Regions from separate parts of the Homo sapiens genome. Here region 2 is linked to region 1. The links are contacts of gene promoters, found by promoter capture Hi-C in human tissues and cell types (Jung and others, 2019). All regions are on one chromosome and are shown on one strand. The core of a region is centred on a gene start or on the middle of the fragment in contact, and the rest is flanking DNA. Distances in the headings are between cores, read along the strand shown. Region 1 holds the start of GNG4 (G protein subunit gamma 4). Region 2 overlaps LYST (lysosomal trafficking regulator).

Region 1 (7,292 bases), core at 1,349-3,848:
CTCTACCTGAATAATACAAGTCTCTATGCCTAAGTATATCTAGAATGAATAAAAATACCAAATTTTAAAAAAGGAAAACCAGCAAGATTAGATAGCAGTATATCCTTAAAAGGTGTTTCAAGAACAAAAATCAGGTAATATTTTAAAGTTACTACTTCAAAATTCCACGAAGAAAGGGGCAATCTTCTGACATACATTATTAGGCATTCTCCCCTCTCCAAGCAGAAACTGAGACAAACTAGGAAAAATGTGATAGTGAAATAAGTGAGATGCAGCTATAAATAAAAGAAGAAATTGTTGGGTACAGACCTTAGTCTTTGCTTTCTGCATAAGCAGTAGTTTTGTGGTAGGCGTGGGTTTGGGCGTGTAGGTCTTGGGGGAAGGAGCATTGTACACATTTTACAGTGTTCCTGCCCTCCTGAGACAGCTGTGGCTCTTGCTTCCCCAGGGGTCAGGGTCCATGTTCCCACCTCATGTTGTTTATTTATTTTGAGGCCAGAGTGCAGTGGCACCATCTCAGCTCACTGCAACCTCTGCCTCCCAGGTTCAAGTGATTCTCGTGCCTCAGCCTCCCAAGTAGCTGGGATTACAGGCGTGCACCACCACGCCCGCCTAATTTTTTGCATTTTTAGTAGATACGGGGTTTCACCACGTTGGCCAGGCCGGTATCGGACTCCTGACCTCAAGTGATCTGCCTGCCTCGGCCTCTGAAAGTGCTGGGATTACAGGCGATGTTCCCACCTGATGTTCTATCATTTCAAAGAATGCACTGAATATTGGGGGACTTCAGGGACTGTCACTTTTGCTTTAAAAACTGTAAAGTGAATCTAGGAAAAGCTTTTTTTTTTTCTGGTTTCTCCACCATCAGTTTGCATGAGAAACGCCAATCATAGGACTGCTGGGAATGGCCCCTTAGCTGTGCTGTTTCTGAGCCAGGCCTACATCCTCCACTGGCTTCCTTGGGCGAATTTTAAGGCCTATGAGCACTGGAGTTGTGCATGGAGGTGGGGGCCAACAGGAAGTCCATTGTCCTAAATAGTCATTTCAGCCTAACTAACCCCATGGTGAGGCTGCTCATTAACAGGCAAGGCATCACTGTAAACCTTGCATTTGCATTTACACCTACTATTTATTAAGTGCCACAGCCATCTCTTATCATGACCGGTCACTGAGCAAACCCTACATTTCAAAAACAATCCAGTTTATAGGTCCTCTGTCTGTTTCTCCGGGCTGGAAAAGGCTTTCCATTTATCAACTTAGTTGTCCCCCCAGTCGCCTCTTGCAGGGAACAGGGCCAGATCAGATGGCGGCTGGTTCCCCTCCCCCGCCTCATACAAAAATCAGGAAAAGGAGTTGCGGGAGGAATCGAGAAGCCGGCCGCAGAGCCCAGGTCCCCCATGGCTACTGTGAGGCATTCGCCGCTGCAAATTTCCTGTCCACTGTGGGAAGCGGCACACCTCACTCATGAGCAGACGACAGGACTGGCACGTTTTAATGGAGCACACGGGCGCAGCCTAGGCGGCCTTTTGCTCCGGCTGAGAGGCACGGGCCCGGTGCCAGCATTTGACAGTCCTGGGAGGCGACGGGTAGAGGAGAGACGCGGCAGCCGCGGGGCCGGGGAGACGGTGGGAGGCCCGGCGTCCATCATCCACTTTATTACTTGATCAAACTTTAACATTTTCGGGTTTCCTAACACCTTAGCCCCAAATACTCGAAATGAAGCAAATCTTAAATTAAGGAGTCTTTCCCCACCACGCTCTGTCCTCCTCCCCACTTCACCCTCCCGCCGTTTCGCGTTATTTCCAAGGCAATTTAAAAAATCAAGCCAAACAAAGCTCCCCGGTTGCTGCCGGGCGCGCGCGGCGAACGAAGCACATTTCAGTTCAGCACCAGCCTCGGGGACAGACGCCATCAAGGAGGTGAGGAAAACCACCCTCAGCTGCGGTGGCTCCAGCGTCACCCCGAGTGCTCCCGAGGCGGCGTCTGGGCTGCTGGGGAGCCAGGAGGGCTTCCTCAGGCACTCGCCAGAAACATTTCCCCAAAGAAAACGCCCAACCAGCCACGCCATCTCCTGCCACTGAGGTCCTTTTCCACGGGGGACGTCCCCGCTGGGAAAACAGCAAACGCTCTGTGACCTACAAATGGAAGAGGGGACCCCCGAGCCCCCGCCTGCCTCATGCCGGAGGGACCGGGCGCCCCCAGCCCCGGAAGCCCCTGGACGCGCTCCGAGGGGGCTGTCCACACCCGCGCGCGGGCTTCCCCGGGGCCCGGCGGGAGGTCCCGGGAGAGGAGGCCGAGGGAACCACAGGTCTTTGTGTCGCGTGCAGCAGCAGCTGGCGGCGTGAGGACCACACCGGCGCCAGAGCCGTCTCCCTAGGTCCGGAGACTTTCACCCCGAGTTTCCCTTCCGCGTCTGGCTGCACCGGGCTGGGCTCTCCCCGCGGACACCCGGGGCTCCGGCCGGGCGCCCACTTACCCGGAGCGGGATCACGCGCGGGCTTCGTCTGCAGCGCGGTGCTCGCGGGGGGCGGCCAGGCCGAGCGGCATCGCTCCGCATCGGGGCGCGGGCCGGGCTCGGGTGCAAACGCGCGCCTCGTGCCCCTCCCGCCGCCCGCGGGGTCTCCGCGTCCCGTCACCGGCCCCGCCCCGCGCCGCGCCTCCCGCCCTGCAGGGCCCGACCACGCGGGCCTGGGGGCGCAGGCGGACCCTCCCCCGGCCCTGGACGCTGGGGGCTTCTGCTCGGCCCCCTGTGCCGTGGGGGCCCAGACTGGGGAAGGGAGAGCCGGCGACTCTGCGACCCTCGCCCCCGTTCCACGCTGGCCGCGCCCACTCCGCCGCGGGGTCTCGCCCGGGAAATCCCGCCCGCTGCCACCGACGTCACTGCTGCGTCACCGGGGCTCCCGCGCTCCCCGCCCCCGCCCCCGCCCCAGCCCGGGCCCGCGCCCCCCGCCCGCTACTCGGGCCCACGCCCCCTGTCCCAGCAAAGGGCCGCGCCCCCGCCCCGCCCCCCCGGAGCCCGCGTGGCCGGGGGACCACTGGAGGGGTCTGTGGGGCGGGGCCGGGGGGTAAATCACTGGGGGGGGGTCTGGGGGGCGCGGCGGGGGGGAGATCACTGGAGGGATCTGCGGGGCGGGGCCGGGGGGGAAATCACCGGAGGGGTCTGGGGCGGGGCCGGGGTTGCTGGAGGGGTCTGGGGACGGGGCCGCGGTCAGCGCGGGCTCCCCGAAGCCTCAGGTACCGCCCTCGCTCGGGGTGAGCTCCAGCGCCTGGGCCGTTGGGGCGCGGGCCGCTTCCCACCCTGCACCAAGGGACGCCTCGGAAGCCTCCGGCCAAGGCGGGGAACGGCGGAGAAACGCGGAATACCTGTGCGAATTCGCGCGGCCGCGTCGCCACTAACCCGGCGAAGGCTGACCCGACGTTGCTGAGTGACGGGGACCAGGGGCCGGCGAGGCCCCCACTCCGGGGGGAGCGAGGCCGGGAGGGCGGAGGGCGCGTGCTGGAGGCGGGGGTGCCCTTCGCGCCCCGGTTCTAGGAGCGACTGCTCTCCAGGCCTCGTCCCTGTGGCACCGCAGGCTTTTGCGCTGGAGATTTTAAAACACTTTAGTGATTACAGCCCTCTTCCTTTCAGGGAAAAAACAGTTTAAGCGCCGTCCATTTTCCGACTTGGTAAAATAATACGAAACCTTGGGAATAGAGAAGCAACGAAAACATTTCACGCAGTGTTGGCAAGATTTGTAGAAAAGGAGGCCAATATTAATTCCCTTTGTGAAAACAACAACATAACATCATGATGAACGATTAGGAAATATTTCGGGAAGATCTGGGCGCCTCATCCTCATCCGCCGTCCACAAGCGGTCCCTGCCACAAAGGACACAGGGCGCGCTTGTTGCTCAGATCCCTGGCCCCACTGGTTGGACCTTGCCCTACACACACGTGTACCTTCTCGGAGCCCAAGGGCCAGATTGGATGCGAACGCGGAGATCACAAAGGCCCGTAAACACGGGGCCAGCAAACACATCGGTTTTTACAAAGCTCTCAAGTGCCCATTTAAGGCACAAAATTAAACCTTGGCAAACCGACGAAGCCAGTCCATGTCCACCTCACAGACTTTTAAAAGTGAGAAAGATATATGAGTACTGCATTGAAAATTCAAGCAAATCCAAACCCTAGCTCATTGTTTTCACCCCAAAATCTTATTTCTCCTGCATTTCCTGCCCACCTCCCGCCCCCGACTGGTTGGCTAAGGCAGAATCCTAGGTTTCCTTTTATCCCAAATCCCAATCTCAATTAATCAATCACAAGGGAAATCAGTGTCTACACTTTCAAGCGCATCATTTCCTTATTTTATCTTTCTAATTGTTACACTATCATTCAAGATAGGATCATGTCAGTTTTAAACAGGAGGAAGAGGTCAGTCAACAAGTGGTTCCAGAGTGGATCCCAAGACCAGTAGAATCAGCGTGTCACCTGGGAATCTTTTAGAGATGCAGACTCCCAGGCCCCACCCAGACCTAAGGAATCAGAAACTCTGGGGGTGGGGCCCAGCAACCTGTGATTCCCCAAACCCTCCAGGTAATTCTGATTCCGTTCATCTCTGGACATCACCCAGGATAGCTGCAGTAGTGTAAAGTCTGGCACCAGGACCCTGGGTATCAGTTTTCTTTCTTCTTATTTATTTATTTTTTTTGCGGAGTGGGAGGGAGTCTCGCTCTGTCGCCCAGGCTGGAGTGCAGTGGCGCGATCTCGGCTCACTACAACCTCCTCCTCCTGGGTTCAAGCGATTCTCCTGCCTCAGCCTCCAGAGTAGCTGGGACTACAGGCGTACGCCACCATGCCCAGCTAATTTTTGTATTTTTGGTAGAGATGGGGTTTCACCGTGTTGGCCAGGATAGTCTCGATCTCTTGACCTCATGAGCTGCCCTCCTCGGCCTCCCAAGGTTTTTCTTCTTTATTCCTAGTCATATCCTTTGTTCTGAAGTCTTCTTTGTTTATATCTATATAACCACTGCAGATTTCTTACTATTAGTGTTTGCATGATATGTGTTTATATCCTTTTAATTTTTAAATCTATCTGTATCTTTTTTTTTTTTTTTTTTTTTTGAGACAGACTCTCGCTCTTGTCGCCCAGGCTGGAGTGCAATGGTGCCATCTCAGCTTACTGCAACCTCCGCCTCCCAGGTTCAAGTGATTCTCCTGCCTCAGCCTCCTGAGCAGCTGGGATTACAGGCGTCCACCACCACACCCAGCTAATTTTTGCCTTTTTAGTAGAGACCGGATTTCAACTTGTTGTCCAGGCTGGTCTCAGACTCCTGACCTCGGGTGATCCTCCCACCTCGGCCTCCCAAAGTGCTGCGATTACAGTCGTGAGTCACCACGCCCGGCCTGTATCTTTGTTCTTAAAAGTGGGATTCTCCATCTTCGTAGGCAGCACAGAGCTGGATCTGCTTTTAAAATTCAGCTTGACGATCTGTCAGCTTGACAACTAATAGTAAAAAATCCGCAGTGGTTATATAGATAAAAACAAAGAAGACTTCAGAACAAAGAATATGACTAGGGATAAAGAAGGAAAACCTTGGGAGGTCGAGGCGGGAGGATCATGAGGTCAAGAGATCGAGACTATCCTGGTCAACATGGTGAAACCCCATCTCTACTTTTAATTGGAATGTTTAGTTCATTTACTTCTTATGTAATTATCATGTGGTTGGGTTTAAAACTACCAACTTGCTATTTGTTTTCTGTTTGTCCTATTCTTCATTCCTTTTTTCCTGCCTGAGTATACTTTAGTATTCCATTTTATCTCAAGTATTGACCTTCATTTTCCTCCTCTTTCTTTGTTCTAGGGTTTATAAAATGCATCTTTAATTTACCGTCGACTACCTTCAAATAACATCATGCCACTTCTTCTTCACTATTAGATTCTTTATAGTGTGTGCTTCCATTCCCCCTCTTCCATCCTTTGTATTATTTTTGTTATATCTCCCTTTTACATAGGTAATAACCCCACAGAACATTATTTTACTTTAAGCTGTCAATTTTCTTTTGAAACATTTAGAAATGATTTTGAAAAATCTTTTATCATTTCTGATGCTCTTCATTTATTTGTGAAGATCCAGATTTCTATCTGATATCATTTCCTTCTGCCTGTAGAACATTTTTTAACCTTCTTTTGGTAATACAGATTGGCTGGTGATTGTCTGTTTTTGTTTTTCTGAATATAAGTATTTTGCCTTTGTTTTTGGAGGATTTTTTTTTTAGATTGACATCTTGAAGAAGTTTAAAGATATCATTCACTGTGCTTGCATACTTTCTCTGAAGAAATCTCCAGGCTAGGCACAGTGGCTCACGCCGGTAATCCCAGCACTTTGGGAGGCCGAGGTGGGTGGATCACCTGAGGTCAGGAGTTCGAGACCAGCCTGGCCAACATGGTGAAACCACATCTTTACTAAAAAATACAAAAAATTAGCTGAGCGTGTTTGTGGGCGCCTGTAATCCCAGCTACTCGGGAGGCTGAGGCAGGAGAATCACTTGAACCCAAGAGGCAGAGGTTGCAGTGAGCTGAGATCACACCACTGCACTCCAGCCTGGGCAACAAGAGTGAGACTCTGTCTCAAAAAAAAAAAAAAAAAAAAAAAAAAAGGAAAAGAAAAAGAAAAAAAAAAAAAAGAAATCTGCAGATCTTTATCCTTTTCCTGGATATGTAATGCGTCTCTTTTTCTATGGCTGATTGTCAAGTTTTCTATCACTGGTTTTCAACAGTGTGATTATGATGTGCCTTGATGTGGTTTTCTTTGTGTTTATGCTGCTTGGTGTTCATTGGATTTCTTGGATCTGTAGGTTTACAATTTTTATCAAAATATATCAAATTAAAAATTTTTCACCCATTATCTTGCTCTTCTCCTTCTGGGACTCCAATCACAGATATGATAGACCATTTGATATTGTGCCATAAGTGCACCACCACACCCAGCTAATTTTTGTATTTCTAGTAGATGCTGTGTTCTTTTAAAGAATAGGGACTTTGTTTTGGAAGGTGGTTATTTACAGATGTTCGATCCTTTTGATGGTTGTCTTAAAGGCTCGTAGCCATTATTATAGGATTAGTTTATTCTAGGACTAGTTTAGCCTTCCTACTAGGGTGTGACTCTTCTGGGGTCGCAGTTGAATGCCTGTGTGTTCAGTGAACTCTTCCCCTTTGGTGGGTTGGAACTCAGATGTATCCGAATCCCCTGTGAGCTCCGAGAATTGTTCAGCTTACAGCTGCCTGTACATTCTTTGCTCAGACCCATGGAGC
Region 2 (7,292 bases), core at 3,649-6,148, 53 kb after region 1:
AAACTAAAGTTGATACTTACTGGAGGACTGTAATTTGGTAGTATGACAAGCCATATGTACATATGGTAATAGAAATCAAGACCACATGTAGCACAGGAAACCTCACTCAGCTATGAGCTCCTTGAAGAGAGGGAACACCTCTGATTCATCTATGTGCCTGGAACATAGCAGGTTCTCATCTCAAATAGATACGTGATGAGTGAAAGGGAAAGTGTTTATCTATGGAACATATTGCGAGGATTAGAGAATCTCTAGCCAGTACTAGAGAAGAAAAGAGATGAGAAAGAATTGTCAGTGAAAAATAAAAGGTAGAGCTTGAAGAACAATAGGATTTGGGGGAAGAAAGGTGAGTGAAGACTCTAGAGAGATACCCATTTGGCTGCCCACGAACGGTAATGAAAAGGTTTCCTCCACTTCAAGCAAAAACAGTTATTAAAAAGTTTCAAAATGAAGAAGAAAAGACATGATGCCCTTTTAAAGAGTTTCCCCAAATAGTTCTATTCTTTTTGTTCTCCTTATGACTGTTTTATCCTCTACTGAACTCTTCTTTTTTAATGGATTCCCTCCTTTTATACATTTAAGAGTTTAACCCATTATTTTACTTTCAACTCTTCAGAGGAAATGCTACATAAAATAAAAATAATATATTAAGCAATTTTCAGTCATTTCTGTAAAAAACCTGATTTTTAGTGAAACTTGCTTATGTCATTTTCCAAATAAATGAAAAAAAAGGCATCACTGACGTATAGACTATCTTTTAAAAAAATCGTGCCACTTTAGGAGCTCTAATAATTCTGTCAGACTATTTAGGGGACATGTTAAATGATATCATAGTGGTCTAAAAAATGAGTATCTCTGGAAAAGCTTAAGAGCTTCAGGAATGCTCATGTGGGAACAGAGACGTTAGGGTCAGGCATTTTGAAAACAAGCTTCTAAAATTTTGTCTAACAGTGTTTTTTTGTGGCTCCCCTGTGGGATCCAAATCTATCAATATTAAAGTTGAGAAAGGCCGGGCGCGGTGGCTCAAGCCTGTAATCCCAGCACTTTGGGAGGCCGAGGCGGGCGGATCATGAAGTCAGGAGATCAAGACCATCCTGGTTAACATGGTGAAACCCTGTCTCTACTAAAAATACAAAAAAATTTAACTGGGCGTGGTGGCGGGTGCCTGCAGTCCCAGCTGCTCGGGAGGCTGAGGCAGGAGAATGGCATGAACCTGGGAGGCAGAGCTTGCAGTAAGCCGAGATCACGCCACTGCACTTCAGTCTGGGCAACAAAGCAAGACTCTGTCTCAAAAAAACAAAAACAAAAACAAAAAAAATCAACAAATAAAGTTGAGAAAAATGTGTGTGCTAAATTTTAGTTATAATTTATCATTCACAATTCCTTGCCAGGAATTCATATAAAAGGAACTTCCTTTTATATGAGTTGCAGAGTTTAAACTTCTAGTTTTTCAATGACACAGAAAGATACAAGGGCAACTGTTTTATATCATAGCATATTTATGATCATTATTCTCCTTTCTTTTTTTTACTTTAGTTCTGGGATACATGTGCAGAACGTGCAGGTTTGTTACATAGGTATACGTGTGCCATGGTGGTTTGCTGCACCTATCAACCCATCATCTAGGTTTTGTCTTGATGCTCTCTCTCCCATCCCCACCAACTCCACCGCGTGGCCCCAGGGTGTGTTTTTCCCCTCCCTGTGTCCATGTGTTCTCATTGTTCAACTCCCACTTATGAGTGAGAACAAGCGGTGTCTGGTTTTCTGTTCTTGTGTTAGTTTGCTGAGGATGAGGGCTTCCAGCTTCATCCATGTCCCTGCAAATGACATGATCTCATTATTTTTTACGGCTGCATAGTATTTCATGGTATATATTTTCTTTATCTAGTCTATCATTGATGGGCATTTGTGTTGGTTCCATGTCTTTGCTATAGTAAATAGTGCTGCAATAAACATACGAGTGCATGTGTCTTTAGAGTAGAATGATTTATATTCCTTTGAGTATATACCCAGTAATGGGATTGCTGAGTCAAATGGTACTTCTGGTTCTAGATCCTTGAGGAATTGCCACACTGTCTTCCACAAGGGTTGAACTAATTTACATTCCCACTAACGGTGTAAAAGCGTTCCTATTTCTCCACAGCCTCACCAGCATCCATTGTTCCTTGACTTTTTAATAATCGCCATTCTGATTGGTGTGAGATGGTATCTCCTTGTGGTTTTGATTTGCATTTCTCTAATGATCAGTGATCCTGAGCTTTTTTCCAACAGTAACCAAAACAGTATGATACTGGTACCAACACAGACATATAGACCAATGGAATAGAACAGAGACTTAAGAAATAACACCACACATCTACAACCATCTGATCTTCAACAAACCTGATAAGAACAAGCAATGGGGAAAGGATTCCCTATTTAATAAGTGGTGCTGGGAAAACTGGCTAGCCATATGCAGAAAACTGAAACTGGACCCCTTCCTTACACCTTATACAAAAATTAACTCAAGATGAATTAAAGACAAATGTAAAACCCAAAACCATAAAAACCTTAGAAGAAAATCTAGGCAATACCATTCAGGACATAGGCACGGGCAAAGATTTCATGACGAAAAGGCCAAAAGCAATTGCAATAAGAGCCAAAATTGACAACTGGGATCTAATTAAAGAGCTTCTGCACGTCAAAAGAGACTACCATCAGAGTGAACAAGCAACCTATAGAATGGGAGAAAATTTTTGCAATCTACCCATCTGACAAAGGTCTAATATCCAGAATCTACAAGGAACTGGTACAAATTTACAAGAAAAAAACAAACGACCTCATGAAAAAGTGGGCAAAGGATATGAACAGCCACTTCTCATAGAATATTTAAAGAGGAGTGCTTTATTGAAATGCTTTTTATACAGCTCTGATTGTTTTGAACTTCAATAGTGAACTGAAGTTCACACAAGCATACCTGGGTCATCCAGATGACCCCCTTATAAATGAGTACTGTTGCTTGGTTTCAAGGCTTGTGTTTGCATTTTGTGTAGATGTCAAGTGAAGGCCCACAGAGTCAAGAAGCAGTATGGTGTCGAAAGTTTCACCGTGGTTCAAATAAAGAAAAGCAGTGGCATAAATGTCATTACACATCACACAGAAATGCAGCAAACCAAACCTTAAAGAATTTGCATCAGAGAAGACATTAATTTAAAAAATGCTGAGTGTCTATTATATGCCCAGGACCTTCCTAGGAACTGGGGACACAGTAATGAACAAGACAGACAAAGTCCTTGTGTTTATGGAGTTACATTCTATTTGGGATGGGAGTATAGACAAATAAATAAACAAATACATATACAATATGTCAGGTGATAGAAGTGCTATACACCAAAACAAAGAAGGGGAAGGGATCTGAGGATGACGGAACAGCTGTTTTAGACATAATTAGACTTAGATATAATCAGAGCTTTTGGAAAGCATTTAAATGGGGGTCAGGGAAGACTCTGAGGAAGAGATGTCTGAGCAGAGACTTGAATGAGATGAGGGAGCAAACTGGGGATATATCTGGGGAGTGGTTATTCCAGGTGGAGCAAAGAGTCATCACAAAGGTTCTGAGGTGGGAATGAAGCAGGCTGGTACCATGTTCCCACTGCGAGCAGACATACTGCTCAGATACAACTTTAACAGCTAACGAGCAGTAAGTATAGTAGTAAATTAAATGGCATTTATTAATTTTCAGGGATGTATTGTAAAATTATGCTGACATGTTAAAGTGACAGATTGGGCTGGGTGTGGTGGCTCGCATCTGTAATCCCAGCACTTTGGGAGGCCGAGGCGGGCAGATCATGAGGCCAGGAGTTCGAGACCAGCCCGGCCAATATGGTGAAACCCCGTCTCTATTAAAAATACAAAAATTAGCTGGGTGTGGTGGCGGGCGCCTGTAATCCCAGCTACTCGGGAGGCTGAGGCAGGAGAACTGTTTGAACCCGGGAGGCAGAGGTTGCAGTGAGCCGAGATTGTGCCACTGCACTCCAGCCTGGGCGACAGAGCGAGACTCATCTCAATCAATCAATCAATCAATCAATCAAGTGACAGATTGTAGTTAAAAATAGTGACCCTGGTAATTACAGTGACTAAAGTGATTTGTGAAGCTTCAAAAACAGAAAACAAAAAATATAGTTTTCTATTATGAAACTCAACACTTGTAATTTAGTTTTAGCAAAACAACACTGTCTACCATATTAATGCTTTAAAATTGAATTTCACTGGTGGAATAAGTTTTGTTTGTATTTAACATGAACATTTGACATATGTGAGCTATGAGCGCAAATAATTTATATCCAGTGTTCTGTCTTACATAAAGTAATATTACAAGGAATAATAGTCAAAACAAGGTGTAGGTGTGTAAAAACCTTTTCCTCTTAAAATAGGTCACAGATTACTGCACTTTGAGATACACTGAGTTATTTCATCTTTAAGGTCCTTTACAACGTCTTTCCCTTACCTTTTCATTTTCTGTGATTTCCTTCTGCAAACCCTTACAGTGCTTACAATTCACATTCTACTATCTTATGCTGTTTTTATAACGAAGAATTGAGTTGAAGATTAAAATCCACTTTAGCTTTAAGGCTTGCTTGATTTTTCTATTTTGAAGTAAAAATTATACCTACTTCCTATTTTTGGAGGCAATACTTCTTATCATTACAACCTGAGGAGGCCAAAGAAATATGTAAAGTTCCCCTTAGGTATAAACCAAAACATCCGCATCACTGGTCAATCCTTTTGATTGTAGATGATAACCAAGACCATGGTATGCATGTGTACACTGGCACACCAATGCTCAAACTATTCTCTAGTCCTTCTCTTCTTGCTTGAAAAATCCTATTATGTCACTGCCCTGCGAGGCTTTCCCTGGGAATAACAATTCTCTCTGCTCCCTGAGGGAGGTTACCGTCTGAAACGATGAATTCTTTTTTCCTCTGAGCTCCCCAAAGCACTCTCTCATATCGCTAACACAGCATTTACCTCGCACAGGATTCTGCTTTCGCTGCTGCACCTGTCTTGCACTGACTGGCACACAGCTTTAGGCCAGGACCATGCTATTCATCACCTGGGAGAGTGCCTGGCATCACAAGAGTCTAATCAGGTTTTGCTGCACTCGATTGAAATCCAAATGACATACCGGATAGGTGATTTCTTTGACCTGTTCTCGGGTCTCCCTGAAAGCAAACTGCACTAGCAACCCCACAGCAGCTGGAAGCTCTCCTTCAATATTGAGCTTGGCTCCAGGTCTGCTCACATGGGCCATGTGGAACAGCTGACGGGGAGTCTGCCCGTAGGTTTTTATCATGGTTTCTAGCGCTCGTCTCTGAACTGGATCTTCAACTGCAGAGACATCCATTCCAAAATATGTCTGCAGAGTGAAAGAGTAAAGGAACAAGACATATGTAGTAAAAAGAAAGACTTGACAATAATACCAAAGGGAAAAACAACACTTTGTTTTATATTCTAGGTTATGGAAAAAATGCTTTTGTTCAGGTTAACAATCACTCATGGTCTCACTGAGATCAGAAGTATCAATGTTTCTGAATAGGTGAACAAAAACAACGTATCTTGACTGATGGTTATAATTAGTTATGTTTATAAAATTAGCTTTTAATTTAAGATCTGAGAATATCATATATGACCTGATACTAAATTATTGAAGAAGTTGCTTATCCAAAGCAATATATAGGAAAAGGCAAAAATGAAGTTAAAATACAATGCTGGTAGATAGTTGAAGAGATAATTATTTAGGTTCTAATCAATATTGGGGATAAAACCAAAAGAGCAGCAATGAAAATTCAAAGCTCTTAAATGTAAAGGGTATTATTGTACTAATAAAATTACTGCACTAAGAAGCATATTTTTTCTTAGTGTCATTATCCCGTAGAGTCAGATGGAGAGCAATGCACATTTACTTATTTCTAAAGCTGGCGGTCAGTAATTGAGTACAGATCAGCCATATTTTGTACATATCCACTTGATGGCTTAGCTTTTCGTATATTTAATCAGTCATAGTGGCTTTCATTACATATCTAGACATAACATTTCTATAAATGCCAAAATAAAATTCCAAAGATATTTCAGAAGTTAGGTCATCTTCAACTCCATTCTCCTCACCACAACTCCCAGCACCAGTGATCAAATCCTTTTTTTAAAAAAACCTTTAGGTTCAGCAGTACATGTGCAGGTTTGTTATTTGGGTAAACTTGAGTCACAGGGGTTTGTTGTACAGATGATTTCATCACCCAGGTACTAAGCCTAGTACCCAGTAGTTATTTTTTCTGATCCTCTCCCTCCTCCTATCCCTCACCCTAAAATAGGCACCAGTGTCGTTGTTCCCCTCTTTGTGTCCATGAGTTCTCATTTAGCTTCCACTTACAAGTGAGAACATGTGGTATTTGGTTTTCTGTTCCTGCATTAGTTTGCTAAGGGTAATGGCCTCCAGCTCCATACACGTTCCAACAAAGGACATGATCTTGTTCTTTTTTATGGCTGCAAAGTATTCCATGGTGTATATATACCACATTTTCTTTATCCAATCTGTCATTGATAGCCATTTAGGTTGATTCCATGTCTTTGCTATTGTGACTAGTGCTGCAGTGAACATTCATGTACATGTGTCTTTACGGTAGAATGATTTACATTCTTTTGGGTATATACCTAGTAAAGGGATTGCTGGGTAGAATAGTAGTTCTGTTTCTAGCTCTCTGAGGAATCACCACACTGCCTTCCACAGTGGTTGAACTAATTTACATTCCCTCCAACAGTGTACAAGTGTTCCCTTTTCTCCAGAACCTCGCCAGCATCTGTTATTTTTGACTTTTTAGTAATAACCATTCTGACTGGTGGGAGACGGCATCTCACTGTGGTTTTGATTTGCATTTTTCTATTGATCAGTGATATTGAGCTTTTTTTCATATGTTTGTTGGTCACACGTATGTCTTGTTTTGAAATGTGTCTGTTTATGTCCTTTGCACACTTTTTAATGAGGTTGTTTTTTTCTTATACATTTGTTTAAGTTCCTTATAGATGCTGGATATTACACCTTTGTCAGATGTACAGTTTGCAAATATTTTCTCCCATTCTGTAGGTTGTCTGTTTACTCTATTGATAGTTTTTTTTCCTGTGCAGAAGCTCTTAAGTTAGATCCCACTTGTCAATTGTTGCTCTTGTTGTGAATACTTTTTATAAACACTTATCTAAGAAAGGCCAATTGCAATGGCTACTTAATGTACTCAAAAAATCAAATAAGGATTGATACACTC

The links. Contacts are between HindIII fragments. The study calls those that stand out against the background at their distance.
Region 2: a fragment that was not itself captured here is called in contact with the fragment with the promoter of GNG4 in region 1 in 2 of the 25 tissues and cell types used here (hippocampus and psoas muscle).

The regions. Positions count from the first base shown.
Region 1 is chr1:235,647,186-235,654,477 of GRCh38, forward strand. It overlaps GNG4 (G protein subunit gamma 4), which reads right to left and starts at 2,599. Exons shown (of 4, transcript NM_001098722.2): 1 at 2,477-2,599. RefSeq lists enhancers at 804-1,098, 3,564-4,415 and a silencer at 2,464-2,573. The HindIII fragment of the contact is 19,046 bases long and covers 1-7,292 here.
Region 2 is chr1:235,697,583-235,704,874 of GRCh38, forward strand. LYST (lysosomal trafficking regulator) reads right to left here. Exons shown (of 53, transcript NM_000081.4): 45 at 5,165-5,395. Among named protein-coding and RNA genes, the nearest start is that of GNG4, 51 kb to the left of the region's middle. The HindIII fragment of the contact is 8,005 bases long and covers 897-7,292 here.